Linked DNA regions of Homo sapiens: regions 2 and 3 are each linked to region 1. The links are contacts of gene promoters, found by promoter capture Hi-C in blood cells and fetal thymus (Javierre and others, 2016). All regions are on one chromosome and are shown on one strand. Each heading gives the region's core, a stretch centred on a gene start or on the middle of the fragment in contact. The rest is flanking DNA. Distances are from core to core; before and after follow the strand shown.

Evidence for each region. The method cuts DNA at HindIII sites, captures the fragments that hold promoters and counts their contacts. A CHiCAGO score of 5 or more calls a contact.
Region 2: a fragment that was not itself captured here is called in contact with the fragment with the promoter of HTR6 in region 1 in 1 of 17 cell types (activated CD4 T cells); the score reaches 5.8 in activated CD4 T cells.
Region 3: a fragment that was not itself captured here is called in contact with the fragment with the promoter of HTR6 in region 1 in 1 of 17 cell types (naive B cells); the score reaches 5.8 in naive B cells.

The regions. Positions count from the first base shown.
Region 1 is chr1:19,662,595-19,666,909 of GRCh38, forward strand. HTR6 (5-hydroxytryptamine receptor 6) reads left to right here and starts at 2,281. Exons shown (of 3, transcript NM_000871.3): 1 at 2,281-3,873. The coding sequence starts at 3,160. RefSeq lists a silencer at 2,095-2,324 and enhancers at 2,103-3,075, 3,076-4,046. The HindIII fragment of the contact is 8,359 bases long and covers 1-4,315 here.
Region 2 is chr1:19,115,765-19,120,079 of GRCh38, forward strand. UBR4 (ubiquitin protein ligase E3 component n-recognin 4) reads right to left here. Exons shown (of 106, transcript NM_020765.3): 70 at 3,793-3,937; 71 at 3,108-3,193; 72 at 2,059-2,146; 73 at 1,457-1,650. Among named protein-coding and RNA genes, the nearest start is that of UBR4, 92 kb to the right of the region's middle. RefSeq lists an enhancer at 3,792-4,315. The HindIII fragment of the contact is 3,131 bases long and covers 1,039-4,169 here.
Region 3 is chr1:19,144,128-19,148,442 of GRCh38, forward strand. It overlaps UBR4 (ubiquitin protein ligase E3 component n-recognin 4), which reads right to left. Exons shown (of 106, transcript NM_020765.3): 51 at 3,866-4,000; 52 at 2,699-2,873; 53 at 1,666-1,806; 54 at 659-780. Among named protein-coding and RNA genes, the nearest start is that of UBR4, 64 kb to the right of the region's middle. The HindIII fragment of the contact is 513 bases long and covers 1,889-2,401 here.

The sequences.
Region 1 (4,315 bases), core at 1,031-3,530:
TAGGTTTTTTTTTTGTTTTTTTGTTTTTTTGTTTTTTTTTTTTTTAGATGGAGTTTCGCTGTTTTTGCCCAGGCTAGAGTGCAGTGGTGTGATCTCAGCTCACTGCAACCTCTGCCTTGTGGGTTCAAGTGATTCTCCTGCCTCAGCCTCCTGAGTAGCTGGGATTATGGGCGTGCATCACTACACCTGGCTAATTTTGTATTTTTAGTAGAGACGGGGTTTCATCATATTGACCAGGCTGGTCTCGAACTCCTGACCTCAGGTGATCTGCCCGCCTTGGCCTCCCAAAGTGTTGGGATTACAGGCGTGAGCCACTGTGCCCGGCCAGCTAGTGTTAACATAGTATCAAAGACACAGATTACATCAGTGTCATTTAATCCCCTCAGCTACTCTGTGAGGTGGGTGCCATATTGTTCTGCTAACTATTACAGAAGAGAAAGCTGTGACCCAAGGAGATGGAGCCACTGGCCCTGTAATCCCAGAGCTGGGATGGAGCGGGGATCCCAAGCCATGTGTTTCTGACTCTCTGCCCAGGCTTGCTGTACTACGTTCTGTTCCTTGGGGGCATGGCAGAAATCGTCACAGTGGTGCAGTGTGGTGGCAAGGAGGAAGGACAGGCCTCCTCTATCTGCTTAAAAGATGCTTCTGTGGGCAAGGCTGGGGCTCTGAGCACCAAATAGCAGCTTAGAGTTGGCGGGTGGGTGCTGCAGGCTCTGAGGTGCCTGAGGGGAGGTTTTTGACCATCTGTAATGGGCTCTCTTTGCCATGGGCATCGAGCAGATCTGGGTTTCAGGTCCACTTCACCACTTGCTGCTGGTGATCTGGGGCAAGGCCCTTGGCCTCTCTGAACCCCAGTTTAACGTCTACCTCTCAGCATTATTGTAGGGGTCGGAATAAATAACTGGAGGAGTAGGAACCGTACAACAAAGCCCCTGGGGACAGCGCAGGAGCCTTCGATTTGGAAAGTATTATTTTTCTGTTTCTGTGGAGAAAAAATGATCCCACCCCGTTCTCTTTATACTACATTTTCTTTTTCTCTTTCTCTTCTTTCTTTCTCTTTCTTTCCTTTCTCTCTTTCTTTCTTTCCTTTTTTTTTTTTTTTTTTTTTTTTTTTTTGACAGAGTCTTGCTCTGTCACCCAGGCTGGAGTGTGCAGTGGCACAATCTTGGCTCACTGGAACCTCTGCCTCCCAGGTTCAAGCAATTCTCCTGCCTCAGCCTCCCGAATAGCTGGGATTACAGGCTCCCGCCACCACGCCCAGCTAATTTTTGTATTTTTGATAGAGACGGGGTTTTACCATGTTGGTCAGGCTGGTCTCGAACTCCTGACCTCAGGTGATCTGCCCACCTCCGCCTCCCAAAGTGCTGGGATTACAGGCGTGAGCCACCTCGCTGGGCCCACTTTCTCTGTTGATTATGCTTATTGTTTATTGTCTGTTTCTTCCACTAGAATGTAAGCTCCATGGAGGTGCGGATCTTTGTTTTGGCCACTGTAGTGTCCTGATGGGTCAGAACAGTGCCTGACATCTAGTGGATGCGCCTTAAAAGATGCATTGAAGTATCTGTTCAATGAATGAATGAATAACAGTATTAACCTGCACAGCAGTGTTAGGCAGAGACTCTTCTCAGCCAGAGGGGAGACGTACAGAGGGAGGTCACACCCAGGGGAAACCACACCCCACGCCTCTGCCTGCAGCGACTCTTAACACACCTGGCCTGGGGATTCTCAAATCTGTTCACGCTCTGTTAGACTAGGAGCGCCAACAGCTCAGGGACTTCATCCTTAGTACCTGGCCCCTTTGGGGATCGGGATGGTTTCTGCGGGAAAGGCCCTGGGGAAGGTTAGCTTCTTGCTCAAACTAACGGTGAAGAATGCCCAGAATTACTAACCCATTTTACAGATATGGCAACTGAGGCCCAGAGGGGTGTCAGGCGATTTGTCCAATATTTCCCAACTCCTGGCTCCCCTGAAAGCCCGGTGACCCCGTTGTGAGTGGGCAGGCACCCATTAGAGAGCAGCCCCTGGATAAGGGCAGGTCACAGCCCCCTGCTCCCAGTTCCGCCTGCGCCGCCGCCACGTGTGGGTTGGGAGGGGCATCTGAGGGTGTGGGGGCTGCCACAGCCCGGGAGGTGACCCCTCGCAGCTGGGGCGCTCTGATCTTCGGCCCACAGGCCCGGGGTGCCGGGACCCCGCCCTCCTGCAGGGCCAGGGCTCGGCTCTCCCCGCCCACCGCGAGGCGGGGCGCACGCTCCGCGGCGCGGGGACCGCGCGCTCCAGGCTGCACCCGGCCTCTCCTCCGCGCGTGCGGGCCCCTCGCGGCGCCTCCCGGGCTCGGGAGACCCGGTCCCGCCGCCCGCCCGGCCCGCGGCCGCCTCTTCCTCTCGCAGCCCCGCGGCGCTTGCCGCAGTCGCAGGCGGCGGAGCAGCCAGAGCGCCCCAGGTACCAGTGCGGGCGGGAGACGGAGGCGACCCTGCTGCCGGGTGGGGAGGGGGCGCCGCGCGGCCGCTGCCCTCCTCTTCCCGCGGGGCCTGGCGGCCCCGGCGAACCCCCGCGCCGCACAGGCCGTGTGCGCCGGATCCCGGTGCCTCCGCGCCAGCTGAGACCTGCCTTTCCCAGGGGCGGCTTTGCTCCGGCCCCTAGGCCCCCGCCCTGGTACCCCACACGCCCACCGGCCGCGGGGAGCCTGCTCCGGCCCGAGAGCGCCCATTCACCCCCCTCACCCACCTCCCCGCGTTCCCACTTCCCCGCACTCTGACCCGGCCGGACGCCCCTCCCCTATCTTGCCGCCCGCCCCCTCCAGGGGGCTCTGCTCCCACCCCAGGGAGCCCATCCGACCTCTGCTTGACTTCCCGCCGCTTCCTTCAGGGGCCTCGGCTCATCGGGTGCCCCTCCCCAAACTTCCAACCCGTTTGCTCCAGGAGTTCCTGCCCCATCCCCGAGGGCGCCCAAATAGCCACACTGTGTCCTCCTGTAGTCGCTGCCCCCTGACCTAGCGCGACCCAGCGCCCCCGCCCATGTCCCCCCACTCACCTCCCCCGGGGGGCGTGGTGAGTCGCGGTCTGTTCTCACGGACGGTCCCCGTCCAGCCTGCGCTTCGCCGGGGCCCTCATCTGCTTTCCCGCCACCCTATCACTCCCTTGCCGTCCACCCTCGGTCCTCATGGTCCCAGAGCCGGGCCCAACCGCCAATAGCACCCCGGCCTGGGGGGCAGGGCCGCCGTCGGCCCCGGGGGGCAGCGGCTGGGTGGCGGCCGCGCTGTGCGTGGTCATCGCGCTGACGGCGGCGGCCAACTCGCTGCTGATCGCGCTCATCTGCACTCAGCCCGCGCTGCGCAACACGTCCAACTTCTTCCTGGTGTCGCTCTTCACGTCTGACCTGATGGTGGGGCTGGTGGTGATGCCGCCGGCCATGCTGAACGCGCTGTACGGGCGCTGGGTGCTGGCGCGCGGCCTCTGCCTGCTCTGGACCGCCTTCGACGTGATGTGCTGCAGCGCCTCCATCCTCAACCTCTGCCTCATCAGCCTGGACCGCTACCTGCTCATCCTCTCGCCGCTGCGCTACAAGCTGCGCATGACGCCCCTGCGTGCCCTGGCCCTAGTCCTGGGCGCCTGGAGCCTCGCCGCTCTCGCCTCCTTCCTGCCCCTGCTGCTGGGCTGGCACGAGCTGGGCCACGCACGGCCACCCGTCCCTGGCCAGTGCCGCCTGCTGGCCAGCCTGCCTTTTGTCCTTGTGGCGTCGGGCCTCACCTTCTTCCTGCCCTCGGGTGCCATATGCTTCACCTACTGCAGGATCCTGCTAGCTGCCCGCAAGCAGGCCGTGCAGGTGGCCTCCCTCACCACCGGCATGGCCAGTCAGGCCTCGGAGACGCTGCAGGTACCTGGGGTGCGCAGGGAGACCCGGGCTGTGGGATAGAGAGGAATGAGCAGCCCCTGGGGACCCCCTGGGCATCCCCACTTAGCACACATTTGCTCATGGCCCTGCGTGGCTGTTGTGAGCGCCCACCTTTCTTCTGAACTCCAGAGCCAATGCCTGACCCACCCACCACAGGATAGCTCCGTCAGGATTTGGGGGCAGGCTTCTCCCAGGTACCATGTACAACAGGGAATTTATGGTGGCCCAACTCTCCCCATCTTTGCCTCCCTGGTCTTCCCCATCATGGCAAATGGCACCATTGCGGCATCACATGCCAGGAACTTAGGAATACTTTTCTCCCTCACCCTCATGCCATTCATTAGCGAGACCTGTTGGCGCTGCTCTAAACAGGTGCCATCTCCCCTGCCACTTCCTACCGGGGAGGCTGTGTAGACTTCTCCTG
Region 2 (4,315 bases), core at 1,354-3,853, 550 kb before region 1:
AATCTGGCATATAATAGGAAGCCAGTTTTAAAAAAGTTTTCTACTACCTTTTCTCTATAAAAAAAGGAAAGAACATACAAGTGCTTTAAGCTGTTATACATGATACCTTTTGAAATTCCAGGAAAACAACAGAAGTATATAACAAGGGAAACCATGACTCCAAAAGCATGCCACACTGAAGCCTGTAAGAGGTGCAATGATGATGCATGCCAAGTTCCCATCCTGACAGCAACCTTGGAAAGATAAACCCAGGCTATTTTAGAGAGGCAGAGGAAGAAAATCAGGGTCTGAACCAAGTGCTAAGTCAAGTCATAAAGAGGAAGGTATGTAATAATTTTGGGGTGATTATATAACACAATGAGAGCTAATATTTACTGAGTACTTACTATGTACTAGGCTCTGTTCTCAGCACCTGACACATACTAACTCATTTAATCCTTAAACCCTGGAAGTGGGGTCCTACCTCCATTTTATAGTTACAGAAACTGAGGTTAAGCAGCTTCTCTAAGGTCACAGAGCTATGTAGCAGAGCTGGGATCTGAACCCAAATAGTCTACCAGTAGCTCTGCTGACTCCACACAATGAAAAATCAAACCCACCTCCTCTGGAGGGGAATGGGCCACCCTAATGTGCAGCATCTACTTTCAGGTCACCAAGGTTAAACTAGGCTTTTCAAGGCAAGAAGAGAAAACCTCCCTAGGCAGCCTTCATGGCCACGTGTTGCTGTGGTACATGAGCCTTATTCTGCCTCTTGGAATAACAGCAATACTTCCATCCTGTGTGCAGAACAGCTCTGTAAGTCTTACTATTCAAGTAGTGTCAACCTGTGTTCTCCCTTCAGTAGCAATGCCTGAGAGTTCAAAAAAAGGCGATCTGTCTCTGTGAAAGTCAACACTATAACCCATGTGAGTGCCTCTCTTGGCCTAAATATGACATGCCCTGGTTCAGTCACTGGGATACATGGGCTAGGAAGATCCAGTATCAGCAGATACAGAGAAAAGGCACCATGTGGAAATCGAAGAGTGTGTGTACTAAAGAAGCTTCTTGAGAAATAACTTTCTGCCCTGTGAGCAAGAGCATAGCTGTCTTAATCCAAGAAATGACAATTACTTCCCAATACAGAAGGTTTTATCTAAGTCTAGACCTTTGTGTAAGAATAGTTAAAATGGGCATGAGAAGCCTGGAGGTCCCCTCACTCAGCTTCCCCTCCCTAGGCAGGCTGTTGAGGAACTTCCACAGACCCCTATGGCTCCACTGGGCTAATTTAGAAATAATCTTTGTCAACATGCTTAGAACTGTTGTTTCACTTTTGTCCTTTGGTCATGAATGGAGGGGCCAAGAGGATGTATTAGGCCTCTAGGGATGTGCTGCCTTACTCCATTCCAGGAACCGAAGGCAGCAACTGAGCTTCAGCCTTACAACCTGCTGCCCCTCCCGAGGCCTAAAAAGCCCGTACTTGTTTTTCAACTCCACGATGGCCTGCACGGTTCGGTTGTTATAATACAGGTTGATGGTCCGCACCATCTTGGTCCGTTTCAGATCCCCGATTTTCACTGTCACTTTGCTGATGGTGTGACTGCCAATGAGCTTCACAACCTGCTGGGTGGTGGTGTACCGCGTGTCCACTTTAATGGAAGACAGCTTGATATACTAAATACAAGAGTTCACAAAACATGGTATTAGTTCAAGACTCGTACTGCCTTTTTAAAAATTCATCAGTGTAACCCACTCTTCATCCACAAGATGAAGTTTCTATTTAATTTTTTAAAAAATATTTTGTAGAGATGGGGTCTCACCATCTTGCCCAGGCTGGTCTAAAACCCCTGGGCTCAGGGGATCCTCCCATCTTAGCCTCCCAAAGTACTGGGATTATAGGCTTGAGCCACTGCACCCAGCCAAGTTTCTATTTAAGGTAATAAATGTGGCAGATAAAAATTCCTACTATCGGTGACCAACCATTAGGAGAGGAACATCTATGTGATAATGATCCATCTCTGGAAACAAGAATCCCACTGGACCTATTGGCCTCAGGACTGTCCATGTACAGATGTTACTTACACAGAACGGTACTTCCGGGTTATTACACACCAGGCAGGGATCGCTCTCCAGGTAATAGCCATCAAACTCCACTAAGCCAGACAAAGTGCTAAGGAAGAAACCAGTCTTAGCATGAACACATTTTCATCTTAGGAAGCACTGAGTTTCACAAAAAAATCATGACAAAGCCATGGCTCAATGTGAGCCAAAGTGAGCCCAAAGTGAGCCCCACCCTAGTGAGAACTCAAGGACACAGGAGAAATCCCAATAGGGTTACGAAGCCACAGGAAAGAAATTTCAACTAACTGACCTTAGATGTTTCCTAATCTTTGATCTATCCTTCAGAGGAATTCTAAAAAGTAGTAAAATTTGACTCAAGAGTCACAATTAAATTTACTAAAAATCATTGAACTGTACATTTAAAATAGGTTAATACATAAATTATCTCAATAAAGTTTTTTTAAATTTTTTTTAAAGAACAGTCACTACTAAACCAGAGAAATAATAAACTGTCAATTTAACCAATATCCTCTTTTAGAAGTTTTTTTAAAAAAAGGAAGACATTTTCTTTAAATTTGTTTCACCTTATTTAACTTAAACCCTTGAAACTAAAGACCTTTTTTTTTTTTTTTTTTTGAGACAGGGTCTCACTCTGTCACCCAGGCTGGAGTGCAGTGGCGTGGATCACAGTTCATTGCACCCTCGAACTTCTGGCCCCAAGCCATCCTCCTGCCTCAGCCTCCCCAGCAGCTGGGACCACAGGTACACGCCACCACGCCTGGCTAACTTTTTTAAATTTTTTTTTAAGAGATGAAGTCTCACTATGTTGCCCAGGCTATACAGACCTTTCTACATTACTACTCACCAAACCCTGAACTCAGCAATGACATTTTGAGTACCTTCTATTTGCAAGACCCTGGCCTACATGGAGGGGATTGGAATCTCAACTAGGCAGATTCGCTCTTCTCTCAGGCGCTTGTCAATTCCTATGTAAGAGCCTATCACCATGCAAATAACTCCTCAGAATGCTGACTGAGCTTCCCACAGGTAGAAAGCAAAACAAAGCTCACTTATAAATGTTCGAGTTGGGGTGGTTGGTAAGAATATGGTTTTGAGTCCGCAGAATCTCCACAGCCTTCTGTGAATACTCCTTCAACTGAAACAGAATTCAGTAAAGAAACAACTTAAAGCCCAAGGTGAAGTCTTATTGGAAAAGACTTTTGTCTTCTGCATTCTAGCTGAATACTGCCCTAGACCTACCAGACTTCTCAGTCAGAATCATACAAAGCTGGGCCTAATTTCAATCATTTAAATGGATTCTATCTCCTTTAGAAGTTTCCATGAGCTTTAGTGATAGGTAGTACCCTTTTCTGACCTGATGGAGGAAGATCATTTTTATTTTTATGGAGAAGCCATAAAATGGTTAGCTAATTGCAGAAACATTTTCTGGTATGTATAATCAGGGCTACTAGCAAAACAAGGAGCACTTGCTTTTCCAAGGAACTGTAATGAGTTCTATCTTCTTTCCCCACCTGACCTTGACCTACGTCCTATGTTAAGTTAGATTTGTTAGTGTATACTGTCTACATCACAGACATATTACGAGTGCTTACCAAGAAATGCAAAACTAGATATATTTAAAAGAGGTTTCCTATATGGACTCCCTATATCTGGGTTGTTCATAATATTCTTAACTCAAGAGAAAAAAGGTTAAATATGGCAAGTTGGCCCCTCTGACCATAAAGCAACTGTTACCTTCTTCTCTGTTTGTGGAGTTTTCAGGGAGAAATATCCTAGTAGGTCCACAAACTGGGCAGCCTTACGACCATAGGCTGGGAGTTCTGGCCAGATGGACCACATCAGATCTAGCAGGAGCTCCTGTTGAGATTTGCTGGAATTTCTGTGGATATATGACAGCTCATGTTACCAAGCAGCAGAAAACCCTGAGGCACCTGTGTTTATCATTGAGGCTCTGGTACCTCAATTTCCCCACAATTATGGGTTAAGTTTGAACGGTTTTGTTTCACTTTTGACAATCAATCCTACCAGATGCAGCATAGTCATTTGCTGCCTCTACCCATCACCCAACATATCCCAGAGCAGAAGCTGAGCTTTTTTAGCCTGAAGGGTCAAGCTTGGTCATGTTACAAACCCCGATACATAGCCTTCTGAGTAGAAAACAGATCGTCTCCTGCCTATGACGTCAGTTTAATGGCTAAAAAGCAGACAACAATAAAGAAATCTCTAAAGCACAAGAGGATTCAGGCTGGCGTAACTA
Region 3 (4,315 bases), core at 895-3,394, 520 kb before region 1:
ATATTATTCATGAAACTCTCTATAAAACACTTTCCTTTCTTGGTCACTCACTCACATGCAAGTGGAATACCTCTCTACTCTCACCTGCAACCCAGCGGACCAAGTTCAGCAGGTTAAGTTAATCCCCGCTTCCTGTTCTGGCACACATTAAGAGCCATTCGCTAACCTCCTGTCTCTCAGTTCCTGGGGATGGACTGGCAGGTCATTTGCTCCTGAGGCCATTTTGGCCCCTTACAAATGGTTCTGGCTTTTTATCAGATGATCAAGCCCCCAGCGCACGTCTTAGCTCTGTGCTAAAATCAGTAGTTTTAACACTTAGCTTCTGTGAAAGGGTCACTGGAAATAGAAATCTTGATGTACTACTTTCATTCATGTGCTCATTTAAGTCACAATTCACCGAGTTACCTAGCACTTACTATGTAGCAAGCAGTAGGCTGTCCCTGGTGATTCAGCACTGAATAAGAAAGACTGAGCCCATCCCCTTTCCAAATCTTTCTCTTCCATGGAGTAAGATCTTAAAGCTTTTATTGATATTTGAAACTTCATTCCCTTCAGCTTCCTCTAAATATATTTTATTTCATTAGCTTAGCAAGCTAAAAACAATTTTCCAGATATTCCCTGGCTGCTGCGAGCTCTCTGGGATTGTAATGCTACGTACAGGACACAAGAGCATCTGCATGTAGATCTTGGATGCTGTGTTAATACAATCCAGCTCACAGGTACAGTAGCCATGGATGATGTCCACCAGAGCATTGACAGTAGCTTCAATATGAGTTAGTCCTAAAGGAGAGACAAACATTATTTGAAAATCTGGAGGAAAAAACTCTAACTACTTGAGAGTCTGAGACAAAAGTGTAACCTTTTATCTCCATGTAAAAGGTCATGCAAACAAAATGACAAACACTCACATACACACTCATTCACACACAGTAGCCTGTATTATTTATGATTTGTTTCATTAACAGTTTCCTAAACTCCCAAATTGTCCTCAAAAGTCTTTCCAGATATCTTGAGTCACAGAAATAAGTAGCTGTCCACTCTCTCTGGATATCAAAAGACAAGGCAAGGAAATATGAAGAGGAAGGCAGATACTAAATGTTCCCTAATATCCCCCAACCTCAGGTGATGACAAAACATGACCTTGACTTGCCTTTTAGGTTTACCACCCAAATGTCCTCCAAACATGAATGAGCACCAGGATCATCCTACTTTTCTATATTGCTATTCAGACCCTTTACTCTTCCATCTGAATTTTCAATAGTGTAAGAAGTTAGAGACCAAATAGCTTAGAAATAGAATAATCCTCAAGATACTTGTGCCTTTTGAGCTGGCTTTAAGCCAAGTTGTCAAAGATTTTTAAAAACAATTATAAACCACTGAGACACACACACACACACACACACACACACACACACAGTGCCTCTTTATGTAAAATATTCAACCCCGATGAAAAGATATGGTAGAAGAAAATCCCACTCTGCCACACTGCTAAATTCCTGTCTCAGGAACATTGCATTTATCTCGCAGACTTCTACTTCCCAATTATGAGTTCTGGAAGAAATGGATTATGAAGAATGAAAGCTAATGGCTAACGGTCATAGCTGTTCAAAGACAGAACTTACATCAGGCTTCATTACCAAGATTCAAATATCCCTTTTAACATACCTGGAAGGCAGGCAGGTGCCAAGAAGGCATTCTTGGGTTTGGATGCATGGAGTTTCCAGAAGTGGTTCACAAGCTGGGTGATGAAACTACAGCAATCTCCTTCCAACTGCTTCTGCGGTTCCTTCCCTTCATCCATTCCTTCTAAGCAGGAGAAAGAAAATTATCAACGATGGTAAATCTGAGATGGAATTTAATTTGTTTTAAGGTTAACTCAGGTCAAGGAAGCTTGCCTGGGGAGGGAGTTTCAAGTGGGGCCCCAATCAATATGCCAACTATCCCTAGACTCCAGCAGGCACATCTAGGAAAAAAACAGTCTGGGAAAGGAATATCGCAGAAAACATTGTATGTTAGAATTAAGTAGAACGGGGAGCATTTAGGATGTTTACCGCAGATTCAAAGATCTCAGTTCCAACTGTTCAACTTCTAAAACGTAGAGGAACATCTGAACATTCTAGAGATCTCTCTAGAACAATTCTGGGATTGTAGTATTAAAAGGAGGAACAGAATGATGATGCATATGGGAGCATGTAAATAACACAGAATTGTAAAGGCAGCAATCAACTCAATTTGACAATGACAAAACAGGTTTGCTACCCAGCCAACAGAAGAGGAGATGAGGAAACAGCACTGAGCACTGAGAAAGTTGCTACACATTATTAATAATAGCACTGGCAAAAGAATGGCATGAAAGCGAAAGATATGCCATAGTTGCTTTAAAGCAACCAGGGCCCAACCAAGCTTAGCTTTCCCCTGAAGCTCCTAAGAGGTAATAACTTCAGAGACAGATTATATCTGATGTCTAGAACACTAAATAAACTCAAGGATAATCGAAAGTATAAGCACTGGAAAAAGAATGTGTTTAAAATTGTACAATCTCAATGTCAAAAGGCCCTACAAGGTATAAAGACCAGGAAGCAAAATCCCTGTCTCTGAGCATGCAGTCAGTCAGAGGCCAGTAAGAACAGTAAGAATGAGAGGGTAAATAGGCATATGAAGCAGATCTCAGGACCACGGCCACAGAGGCCAAGTTCACCTGTTTCCATCTGGGGCAGCTTTGACTCCGTAAAGTGGACAAGGTTGTTGGGGCGCATGATGGCAATGGAGCGAGCTGTGATCACTAGCCTCTGGAACACCTCAGGGTCCAAATCCTTGCCCTCTTTGCTAGATGTGTTGAGACACTGCACAGCTTTGCTCAGCAAGGCCTGATCCTGTAAAACAACAGGAGCACAGAGGGTCAGCCATAAGCAAGAGCTGGGTACAAAAGCAAAGAGGAGAGAAAAGCTGGCAGATCACCAGGATTATTACCTCCTCTCAAGAGAACAGGCCAATGAACACCAATCACCTACAACAGATCTTCAAAGCAGCCTCATATAGTTAAGTTTCTTAATACATAAAATATTAATGTCATTAAAAAATAAAAACCCTGCAGTATCAAAGTATGATGGGAAAATTCAAATCTACTCAGTTCTCCAGAACTGCTAGATTTCTTTCTCTTACAATAGAAGAGTCATTTCTTAGCAAATTCATATTACCCAAGGACAGTGTTTCCAAAATTGTCTTTCCTTGAGAGACAGCAGGTTAAACTCACATTTCTCAGTTCTCCGGGTTGGAGGCACAGAAGCTAACCAAAGCTCTGGGTTGATGGCTCCTCTCAGAGCCTTCCTCCTCAGGGGTCTGAACTCTCATCTTTTCCATCTACAGAAATTGGCCCAGTTTGTCTCCTTTGGCAATGCCTTTCTTTTATAAGTGATACCCTCTTTCCCCAGATGTTCCCATCAGAGGCACTCCAAGAACTATTCAACACTTGTCTCACCAACAAGTACAGTACACTTCTCGTGCTGTGCCACACCTGAGGGAGCGAAAACACTAGCAGTCTATTTCCTGAGGGACTCCCTCACCTCACCCTTTTCCAGCGAGAAGGCTACCCACGCTCAATATCCCTCCTTCTCTTTCTTAAGTCTTGTTGATCCTGTTAGAGTGACAGAAAAATAAGTACAAACCAGGGGCCCAGTCACTGGCTTACCCTCGGTTTTGAGTGGCACTTGAGAATTTCTCAGGAGAAACTCTGTAAAATGTAGGTCTAATCTGAATGCTATCCTCCCTCTACCTTACTTTGCTGTGCTGTTGCTTTACAATGAAAAGCTAACTTATTTGATTCCCTGTCAGCACTGCAATTTCCTTTCCCTGAGAGAACAGTTACCTTGTGGCTGTGGTAGGCCGAGCGGCTGGTGTGCAGGCTGGCCAGAAGGCTCTTGGACTGCTGCTGGACACTGGCAGGTGCTGGCAGGGACAACAGCAAAGTGGCCAGCTCCTGAGCAGCATTCTTGTTTCTCTCCTAAGGCAAAAGACAGCAGGGTTATCACTAACCCCACCAACTCAAGGCAGAATGAACTATCTACACTCTGCCTGCCCTTCCTTCCTTCTAGGCCACCAGGGCTAGGTTATGCTCCATGGACTGCAAAGAGAAAAAAAAAAAAGTTTCAGAAATTATAATCCTCCTTCTTACCAGAGGAAGACATGGAATCCAAGCTCATGATTCCCAGAACAGTGTTCTTGTACCAACACGCATCCTATTCTGTGACACACGCTCACTATGGGCCCGAAAAGTAGGACATAGGCCTTAAGCTGAAGACTTCTCTGGAGCTTCTTA